Regions from separate parts of the Homo sapiens genome. Here region 2 is linked to region 1. Evidence: promoter capture Hi-C in human tissues and cell types (Jung and others, 2019). All regions are on one chromosome and are shown on one strand. Each heading gives the region's core, a stretch centred on a gene start or on the middle of the fragment in contact. The rest is flanking DNA. Distances are from core to core; before and after follow the strand shown. Region 1 holds the start of MTHFS (methenyltetrahydrofolate synthetase). Region 2 overlaps FAH (fumarylacetoacetate hydrolase).

What was found. The method cuts DNA at HindIII sites, captures the fragments that hold promoters and counts their contacts. A contact is called where the count stands out against the background at its distance.
Region 2: a contact is called between a fragment that was not itself captured here and the fragment with the promoter of MTHFS in region 1, in 3 of the 25 tissues and cell types used here (H1 embryonic stem cells, lymphoblastoid cells and thymus).

Annotation. Positions count from the first base shown.
Region 1 is chr15:79,894,046-79,898,858 of GRCh38, forward strand. MTHFS (methenyltetrahydrofolate synthetase) reads right to left here and starts at 2,969. Exons shown (of 3, transcript NM_006441.4): 1 at 2,827-2,969. The coding sequence starts at 2,943. The region is part of intron 2 of ST20-MTHFS (ST20-MTHFS readthrough); the gene reads right to left. ST20 (suppressor of tumorigenicity 20) reads right to left here. Exons shown (of 3, transcript NR_037653.2): 3 at 4,797-4,813. RefSeq lists a silencer at 2,978-3,277 and an enhancer at 3,418-3,467. The HindIII fragment of the contact is 7,261 bases long and covers 1-4,813 here.
Region 2 is chr15:80,178,343-80,183,155 of GRCh38, forward strand. It overlaps FAH (fumarylacetoacetate hydrolase), which reads left to right. Exons shown (of 14, transcript NM_000137.4): 12 at 1,782-1,883; 13 at 2,700-2,817. Among named protein-coding and RNA genes, the nearest start is that of FAH, 28 kb to the left of the region's middle. The HindIII fragment of the contact is 7,164 bases long and covers 1-4,813 here.

The DNA.
Region 1 (4,813 bases), core at 1,719-4,218:
AAATCAATAGTGGGCTACAATTTTTAAATGAAATAGAATAGAAAATATTAAAGTTCGAGCCAGGCACAGTGGCTCACGCCTGTAATCCCAGCACTTTGGGAGGCAGAGGCGGGAAGATCACGAGGTCGAGTTCGAGACCACCCTGGCCAACATGGTGAAACCCCGTCTCTACTAAAAATAGAAAAATTAGCTGAGCATGGCGGCACGTGCCTGTAATCCCAGCTACTTGGGAGGCTGAGGCAGGAGAATCGCTTGAACGTGGGAGGCAGAGGTTGCAGTGAGCCGAGATCATGCCACCGCACTCCAGCCTGGGCGACAGAGCAAGACTCTGTCTTGAAAAAAAAAGAAAATATTAAATTTCATTGTATGTGCTTAAGAGCTGTAAAATGTTCCTTGTATGTGTATATTTGTTTGTACAGAGTAAAATGTATTTATTACTGAGGGTCATGGGTCTGCTTTTTAATTTTTCTCTCTCCTCCTTTAATGCCAGCTCTCAGTCGTCATTCTATTGCTGTCAGTGACTCTGTATCTATGTAAACTATTTCCATCTATAGTTTATGAATTCTAATCTTCTACGGAGAAAGACAACGTAGAAGATTAGAAACTGAATTCATCTTTATTTTCCCCATGCCCCTCCAAAATTTGTTCCAATTCCTACCTTCTTTATGCCTAAGGCTAAACACCATTATACCAAGCTCTAAATTTTGGAATCACTGGTGACTCTCCTCCCCTTCCAGTATTCTCTAACCTCTTCCAATCAGTTGCCAAGTCCTGCTGTTTCTCACTTAACAGTCTCCCATTTGCCTCCTTTCCCCTCATCTTCACTGCCCATGCTCTGGTTTGCATATTTTTCATCTTTCACTTGAATTGGCACAACAGCCCCTTACTGGTCTCCATATTTTTTTTCTTTCTTCCTTCCTCAACCCATTATCCAAATGCTGCCATTATACTCTTCCTAAAGGACATAACAAACAATAGGTAAAGCTCTGAATACATCCCTTTACACACTTCTTTAACTCTCACAATCGACCTACAAGAGTGATATTATCCATTTTATAGACAAGGAACCAAAGGTTCTGAGAGATTATGAGACCTGTCCAAGGATATACAGTTAAAAAACAATGGCGCCAGATTCAGCCCAGATCTGTGCAGTTCCAAAGCCCATGCTAAACTGTATCCTGTCATCTCTTGCCTAAATATCCCTACTCACACTCCCCTATCCCATCTTTCCCTTCACCTGAAAGAATTCATCTTGTTCTCCGAAATTCATCTCAAACATTTTCCAATAGAAAGCTTTCCAATTTCCCCTCCCCAAGGCTATGTTTCCACAACATTGGTGTTTACCTTTATCATATATCTGGCTTCAATGCAATTCTTTATTCATGTCTGTTTCCTCTTCTAGGCTCTCTGCTCCTTTAGAGCAACAATCATATCTTTTTCATCTCCACAACCCAGTATATAGCCAAGTGTGCACTACATAGGTGTTCAACATATGTGAATGAATTAGCTAAATTTTAAACAACTAGATAGTAAGGACAAGAGTCTATATCCTTTACATCTACTAAAACACCCAGCAATGCTTCCTCATAATAGCTAAAATAATTCTGTTTGAACGAACGAATTAACATCTGTATAGATTCCCTCATACACACCTACATAGATGAAGAGAGGGGTGAAATGAGCATATATGCTTTACTGCTTTAACCCATAGGCACCTTGAATTTGAGTAAATAACGGATAATAGAATAGTGAAGGGTAATTAAGAAAGCCTGATGGTATAACTAATTCCAAGGAACATCAAGTTTCCAAATATCTGGTGTCTCTGAAGCATGATGCTGGGAAGACAGATCATCAGTTTGACTTACAACAGAATTACAAATACGTACTTATTCAGGGGACATTAAATTTTTCTTCCTCTGGTGTCTAACAAAAATGAGTCCCCAAAAACTCTTTAGAACATGCCTTCACAACAGGATATGACTGCCATTTTATTGATAAGAAAACTGACATTACATAGACTAAAAATACATAGCAGTGCAGTTGGTGAAAGTAATGAAACAGAGGTCTGCTAACCAACAAACACGGACCCTCACTTATTCCTCTCATTTCTCTCTTCTGTTTCCTACGTTCTTGGGAAGCCTGGATATGATAGCCAAGTCTTCCTTTCGTTCACTCAAGAAAAAGCATTTAATGTTGACCAACTCTGAGACAGGAAAAGCCTAGGCCCTGGAGCTACTGAGACACAGCCTTAGCCCTCCATATGCTTAGTGAAGTCCAGTCAACCTCTGAGTTCTGCCCTTTGGCATCTCCACACCTTTTTTGGTGTTCCCTCGTCTAAAGCACCTGCATCTTTCTCTGGCCATTTTACTAATATAACCGGAGTCTTACTCGTAGCTCATTAACTTTAGGCCTCACTGAGGGAACCTGGGCACTCAGGTGTTCACCCATCTCCTCTACCACAACTTTCTGTTCTCACCGTGCTCTCACCACAGCACCGTCATCCCCACGGAGGGTTTTCGAGCACCAAAAGAGCCACCCATGCAAACAAACTCCCCTCCCAGAGATAAATCTGTCAACCCCTGCCGTCCTCTCGCTCTTTAGCCCCACAACTTTCACTACCGGGCCCTCTCCCCGCCATAGTGCCAAGAGCGTCCAGACCACGACTAGGGGGCGTGCGCGCGCCGGGAGGGGAAACGTGCGCGCGCCGGGGGGTGGGGGGGCGCCTAGCCCAGCGCCAGCACGGACCATGCACAGATCAGCAATCGCTGGCCGCCAGGCCTTCGGAGGGTCTGTCCGCCGCGGCTTCCGCTACGGGCGGCCTCGCACCTTCTGGCTCAGTACGCGGGACTGGCGTAGCCGCTCCTCGGCACTCATCGCCCGCAGACGCTGCTTCAGCTCTCCCCGCAGGCTCCGCTTGGCGCTGCTCACCGCTGCCGCCGCCATCTCACGCCCAAGCCGAGTCCAGTCCCGCCCTCGGCGCCCTGGGCGCCCTCGGGTTCGGTCTCCGCCCCTGGCCGCTCCCAGGTGGATCCGCGGCCTAGGGGCGGGTCGGGGCTCGGGGAAGCGCCCCCACCCCGCTTCCGGGACGCGGGCCCGCGGCGCGCCGCGCGCTTACCTCGCCTCTGGCCCTTGGGACCCAGCCCTCGTGCGGTCCCCGTGGTCCGGCTCGCCCTCCCCGGTTAGGGGAGCGGTGGCGAGGCGCCGTCGCTGCCCTGCCGCCTGACCTCCCTGAGCCTGGGCCCTCACCGGGACCGCGGAGGCGGCAGCGCCACTGGCGGGGATGGTAAAGATGGCCGGCAGTACCCACGGTGCCTGGCATCTCTTGTACTGTTCAGTAGTGGGACTTCAGGGGCCAGAAAAGAAGGGCAAGGCAGGACATGTAGCGAAATCGTCACGAGTCGCTTAACTACAGGGATAGGTCTGACAGATGCCCCGATTTCCTTCTTGTGCAAACATCAGAGTGTAGTTACACAAAGTTACTACACACCTATGCTACACACCTGTACAGCGTATTTTGTACCGAATACTGTAGGCAATTGTAAGCACCGTGATACTTGTGTATCTAAACACAGAAAAGGTAATGTGTTGGTTGGCTACCACATCAGTAGGTATTAGGAATTTTTCAGCTCCATTATAATCTTAAGGGACCACAGTGGTTGATGGAAATGTCCTTATGTGATGAATGTATAGATGATACATAATCGGGAACACTGCTAAAGCAATAACTGTAGTGTAAAAGCCAAATTTTGCGGGTTTCTAGTGTGAATGTATTCCAGGTAATAGTGCCCACATAGGTACTTCCTGTTATAACCATCAGTGACTGTTCATTCCCACCACTCAGCTCTGATTAAAACACAAAAATGAATTAAAACTAAAAGCAGTTGGGGGGTGGGTGAGGCACTTGCAGGAAGAGGTAAAAGAAACTGTTAAGTCTTAAACTGCTCCCAGTAGACAGGCGCCTCAGATGGCATAGACGGTTGCCTCTCAGATGTGACTTCCTAAGAAAACCAGAGCTGTCTCTGCCAAAAATACGTCCCTACTGACCGCCCCAGTGTCTTAATCCCCACCGTTAAGAATCACACCTCCTAGGTAAAGCATTAATTAAGTGCCCGGTGAGAATGCACATGGCTTGAGAGGGGAGTTCTGGCTTCTTTATGGAATCTATCAACAGCTTCCAGGGAAAGCTAATGCAAGTCCCAGGGGGACTGTGTTGTAAGAAAAAGGGAAGGCCAGGCAGGTACAGCGTATACATAGTGCAATTAGATTTGCTGACCTAAAAGTTAGAACACGAGGTCTAACAAACTACGTACTTTTCTAATCTGTTCATTTTTACCAAAAAATAAAAATTAAAATTAACACTAGCTCCACGTTGAATCATTTACCAATTTTCTTTGTTCAGAATATCCCAGAGTATCCTGCATATCAGGTTGCCATATCCATCAACCCCAAATGGCAAGCCAGAGAGAGAAGGCTGGGGAGGAGGCATCAATGGAAACTCTTAAGCAGCCAGGGGCACTGGAAACTGCAGAAAGCATGGGAAGGAAGGAGGGAAGAGGGAAGCCGACCTGAGTCTGCTTCTAGCCTGAGTCCGCTTCTCAGTCTAGTCTGCAGTCTAGCCTAGTGACACAGAAAAGGACTTTTGGGGTAATGGCACACCTTAAAAGTCTGCCTGGGGCAGAAAAGACACCGCCTTCCTGGTCATCATCCCATAATTAATTGCCTGGATCCTGTGTTGAGCTTTTACCCTTTGGCTGAATTTCCAGCCAGACTCCAAAACTGAAGACAAAAATGGCATATAGAGAAAAATACATAC
Region 2 (4,813 bases), core at 1,510-4,009, 280 kb after region 1:
CACTTCATCACTCCCTCCAGCAAAGGTCACTCCTCTCCTGACCTCTGCTACCATGTATTATTTTTTTTCTGTTTTTCAGTTTTATAGAAATGGCATCATAAAGTAGCATGTATTCTTTTGTAGCTGGCATCTTTGTTTTAGTGTTAGATCTGTGAGATTCAACCCTGTTGCTCTTTGCAGTGACAGCTCATTTTTCTCATTGCCTTATAGTGTTGCACTGTATAAATATTCCACAACTGACTTAATTTTTTTTTTTTTTTGAGATGGAGTCTCGCTCGTTGCCCAGGCTGGAGTGCAGTGGCGCGATCTCGGCTCACTGCAAACTCCGCCTCCTGGGTTCATGCCATTCTCCTGCCTCAGCCTCCCGGGTAGCTGGGACTACAGGTGCCCGCCACCACGCCCGGCTAATTTTTTTTTTTGTATTTTTAGTGGAGATGGGGTTTCACCATGTTAGCCAGGATGGTCTCGATCTCCTGACCTTGTGATCCGCCCGCCTCAGCCTCCCAAAGTGCTGGGATTACAGGCATGAGCCACTGCGCCCGGCCAACTGACTTATTTTGTAAGTCACATCAATTCCACAATCGATGGACATTTGGTTGTTTCCGTTGTTTTTGGCTATCACAGAGTTACTGTGAACATTTTAGTACACACCTTTTGGTGCACATATGTGCACATTTCTATTGAGTGTATATCCAGTAATAGGCTTGCTGGGTCATAGAGTACACATAGACTCAGCCTAGGGGTACTTCCAAACAGTTTTTTGAAGTGGTTATACCAGTATATACTCCCACTAGCAGCATGTAAGCATTTTGCCTGCTCCACATCCTCGTCAGCTCTGGTGGTGTTTGCCTTTTCGTTCAAACCGTGCCTGGGATTGTGACTTCAGTTTGCATTTCCCTAATGACTAATGCAGCTGGGCATGTTAGTCATATGTTTATGGTTCATTTGTTTCTTGGCCTTTTGAATATCCTCTGAATCATTGAACTATTTCTAGTTTCCCTAATTTCCCTTCTAATTTAATATTATTCTGGGCTCCTTAGGGCTAGTAAGAAGAAATTAAGGGGCCTCCTTGCAGGGGCTCGTGGGCAAGAATCCATCTTTTGGGTTTCCTATGCCGGGATGTGTGGCTGTAGGAATGGCAATGTGAGAAGCTGTGGCCTGGGACAGGCATGGGCGTGCATTGCATCTGAGCGTCTCGGTGGGCACGTGGTGCCTTGGCCCCCTCTGCCCACAGCCTGACCGCCCACAGCTCTCCCTCGCTCCTTGGCCTGCCCTGACATCGTGTTTGAATCGTTCAGCTCCATTGCCCAGTGTCCATCCCAAGGCCCGGCATGGGAGAATGGGAGCGAGGGCTTTGCTCACGAGAAGCCTCTGCTGTGGTGTGGACTTAGATTCTCCCAATACGGGACTGGAGGGTGTTCCCAGGGCAGAGTGGAGTGTTGTACACAAGGGCATGTTGCAGGCTGAGGGACTGAGCAGTAAGGTCAGCCCTTAGGGGATGCTGCTTGGAGAAGGTGGTCAGTGTGGGCTTGAGGTAGCAGAGGAGCTGAGGTTGGAGTTTGTGAAGGAGATGGAAGAGCTTGGGGGAGGTCTCTGGGCAGCTCCCCAGGAGGACAATGTGTCCTTACTATAAGGGACTGGAGAGAGCTGGCTGGGGGAGCTGGGGACCGGGGAAAGGCCAGGGAAGGCGGTCGTGAGCAGGGCAGGCTGTGCCCAGCTGCCTCCGGGATGCTAGGCTAAGCCTGCCGCTGCTCATTCCACCTCGCGTCCATTGCCTGCAGTACATGTACTGGACGATGCTGCAGCAGCTCACTCACCACTCTGTCAACGGCTGCAACCTGCGGCCGGGGGACCTCCTGGCTTCTGGGACCATCAGCGGGCCGGTGAGTATCTGGCTGCACTGAGGGCTGCCCACGCAGAGCATCCCTGCTCCCCACACAGCCCCAAGGGCCCTCAGCTCAGCCTCGAGAAGAGATTTCAGGCCCGAGGTGGGTGTATCTCACAACTCTGTCTTCCTCGTAGCCTTTCTCTCTGGGTGCAGGAGGGACTTCTCATCCAAATTCAAACCTAAAGAGACTGGTGTGAGAACGGAAGCCTGGGTCTCTGCCTCTGTAGGGGAGCAGCGCAGTGACACGTGGGGAGGAGTCAGGAGACAGTGATAGTGTCTTGGTTGTCACCATCTCACACTACACCCTCCCAGGATGAGGTGGCCATGCTGCTGTGCCCCTTCCCACCCGCTTGTCCCCCTGTAAGCCTGCGGGAGTCACAGAACCTTCAGAGATGATGACCTTGGGGTGGTGCATGTGTCACTCACTTCCTGCAGGGGGCTGGCCGAGCCCTCTTGTTCCTTGAGCTGTCGACAGGAGGGTGTTAAGCATCACGATATCTGGGCAAACTGCAGCCTCCAGAGCAGGGAGGGGATGCTGCAGGGGGCACTGGGCACTCTGGTCAGGGATTCACTGATTCCTAAACAAGCGATGTCCTTAGTGGAACCATTGCTGTCCCCACAGGAAGAAGGGGCAGAGTTCCATGTCTCAAAGGCATCTCTGCAGTGATCCCACCAAGGCCGAGGCAGGGTCTCTGAGGGGCATGAGGGCCCCCTGCCACTTCTCGGGACTCCCAGGTCTTGCTGAGCATGGTCCATGCCAGAGCCAAGGCATAAATTCATGTTATTCTTTCTTCCCTTTCCTGTGATGAAGGAGCCAGAAAACTTCGGCTCCATGTTGGAACTGTCGTGGAAGGGAACGAAGCCCATAGACCTGGGGAATGGTCAGACCAGGAAGTTTCTGCTGGACGGGGATGAAGTCATCATAACAGGTGAGGGCTGCCAAACCCAGCAGCTCGTCTTCCTCCTTGCCCGCCATGCACTGTTCTAGCTGCGGGGCGCTCCTACCTGGCCATGAAGCCATCTGTTCTCACGCATCCTGACTCTGCCTCCCAGAGTCTCTGCCTGCTTGTTCTGTCCTTCCCCACAGCTATGGCTACCCGGGACTTCAAGTGTGAGTCTCCCTAGGCCAGAAAGACTGTAGACATTCTGCTTGGTCTCCCTTCTCCCTGAGCATAGTTATAAAATACTGGCAGGTTCCTCAAGGTCTAGACTTTGCAGCAAACGCCCTGTGCAGACACTTGGTGACCTATGACTAGGATCAAGGAAGGTTCAGCTGAGTTAGTGACTGAGGCTTCGCAGCAGCCTGTTCCAAGGAGGTGAGGGTGCCTCTTAATTCTTCTGGGGGTGCCATTCTGCCTACCACATTTTACTAATAGAGGGAAAGGGCACCATAATGGTTAGCAGCACACTCTTTAGAGCTGGAAAGGTTCAAGTTGAACTCCCAGGTCCCCCACCAGCTGTGTGACCTTCATTAAGTTATTTAGCCTTTCTGAGACTCAGTTTACCTCATCTTTAATTATTTTTTTTGTTTTTGAGTCGGAGTCTTGCTCTCTCATCCAATCTGGAGTGCAGTGGCACAATCTCAGCTCACTGCAACCTCCATCTCCCAGGTTCAAGCGATTCTCCTGTGCCTTAGCCTCCCGAGTAGCTGGGATTACAGGCGCGCTAATTGTGTATGTGTCAGTTTCCGTGCTTAACTAAAAGCTTGTGTTAGTTTCCTGTGGCTGCAGTAACATAGTACCGCAAACTTTGTGGCTTAAAACAACTGAAATGTATTCTCTCACAGCTCTATAAGGTACAAGTTCAAAATCCTCGTGTTGGCAGTGCCATGTTCCTGGAAACTCTGGGGAGCGTCTGTCCCTGGCCTCTTCCAGCTTCTGGTGGAAGCCTCTTTGTCTTGTGGCCACATCACACTGATCTCTGCCTCCACGGTCACATTGTCGCCTCGTCTTCTGTCTCATCTCCTTTACCTCTCTCTTATAACACACATGTGATAGCATTTAGAGCCCACCTAGACAATCTCCTCATTCTAAGATCCCAACTTAATCACATCTCCAGAAAATTTACTATATAAGGTAACATTCACAGGTCCTAGGGATTTGGCCGTAATTTAGTCCACTCCAGAGCTCTTGGAGAGCAAAGTTTAGTCCAAGTAGCAGCCACATAGTGCATGCCCAGTGTGGCTGTTGGTTAGTTCTTTGAATAAAGTGGATTTGGTAGAGAAGATGCAGGCAGAGCTCAAAACAGCAGATGATACCCATTATTAATCAATAAATACCCATTTTGCTCCCATTTCTGCAGCCTAATTATACCTCTCTAATTTGAATTTGACTATTTACTGAACATCTGCTAGGAGCCAACCATATTGCAGGCATGTCCACCTTCCTTATTTCATTTTCTACTCACAATAGCCCTTTGATGATATAATATCATTGCCCCCATTTTGCAGAGTCGAAAACTTAGGCTGATAGAAGGCAGGTTACTTGACAAAAGTCCCACAACTGGGGAAGCCAGTCTGCAACTGAGGTCTTCTGATTCCCCTGCCAAGTTTGTTTCTAGTCTTTCTGCAATGCTTGCCAGACCTACCGCAGGCCTTTGGTCACGGTTCTGTGGATTGAGTGAAAGCATTTTCTGAAGTTTTGATTTGGGGAAAGGAAGGAAAGAGATGGTGGCAGAAGAGAAAATGATGGCTTTAACTCTCTGTTGTCAGTGTGATAAGGGCCCCTGACTAAGCCATGCTAGACCAGGCAGCTGTCCAGGGCCTGGGAGAAAGGAGGCTGGTATCTAGCAGTTGGAATGCACATGTGTTCTTGACATTTGAGCCAGAGAAGGAAGGAGAAAGGAGCCAAGATGCCATGAGAGTCATTTCCATGTTTGTTTGTGTATACAACGCCTTACTCCGGAAGGATTTTTGGAGGCCAGCAG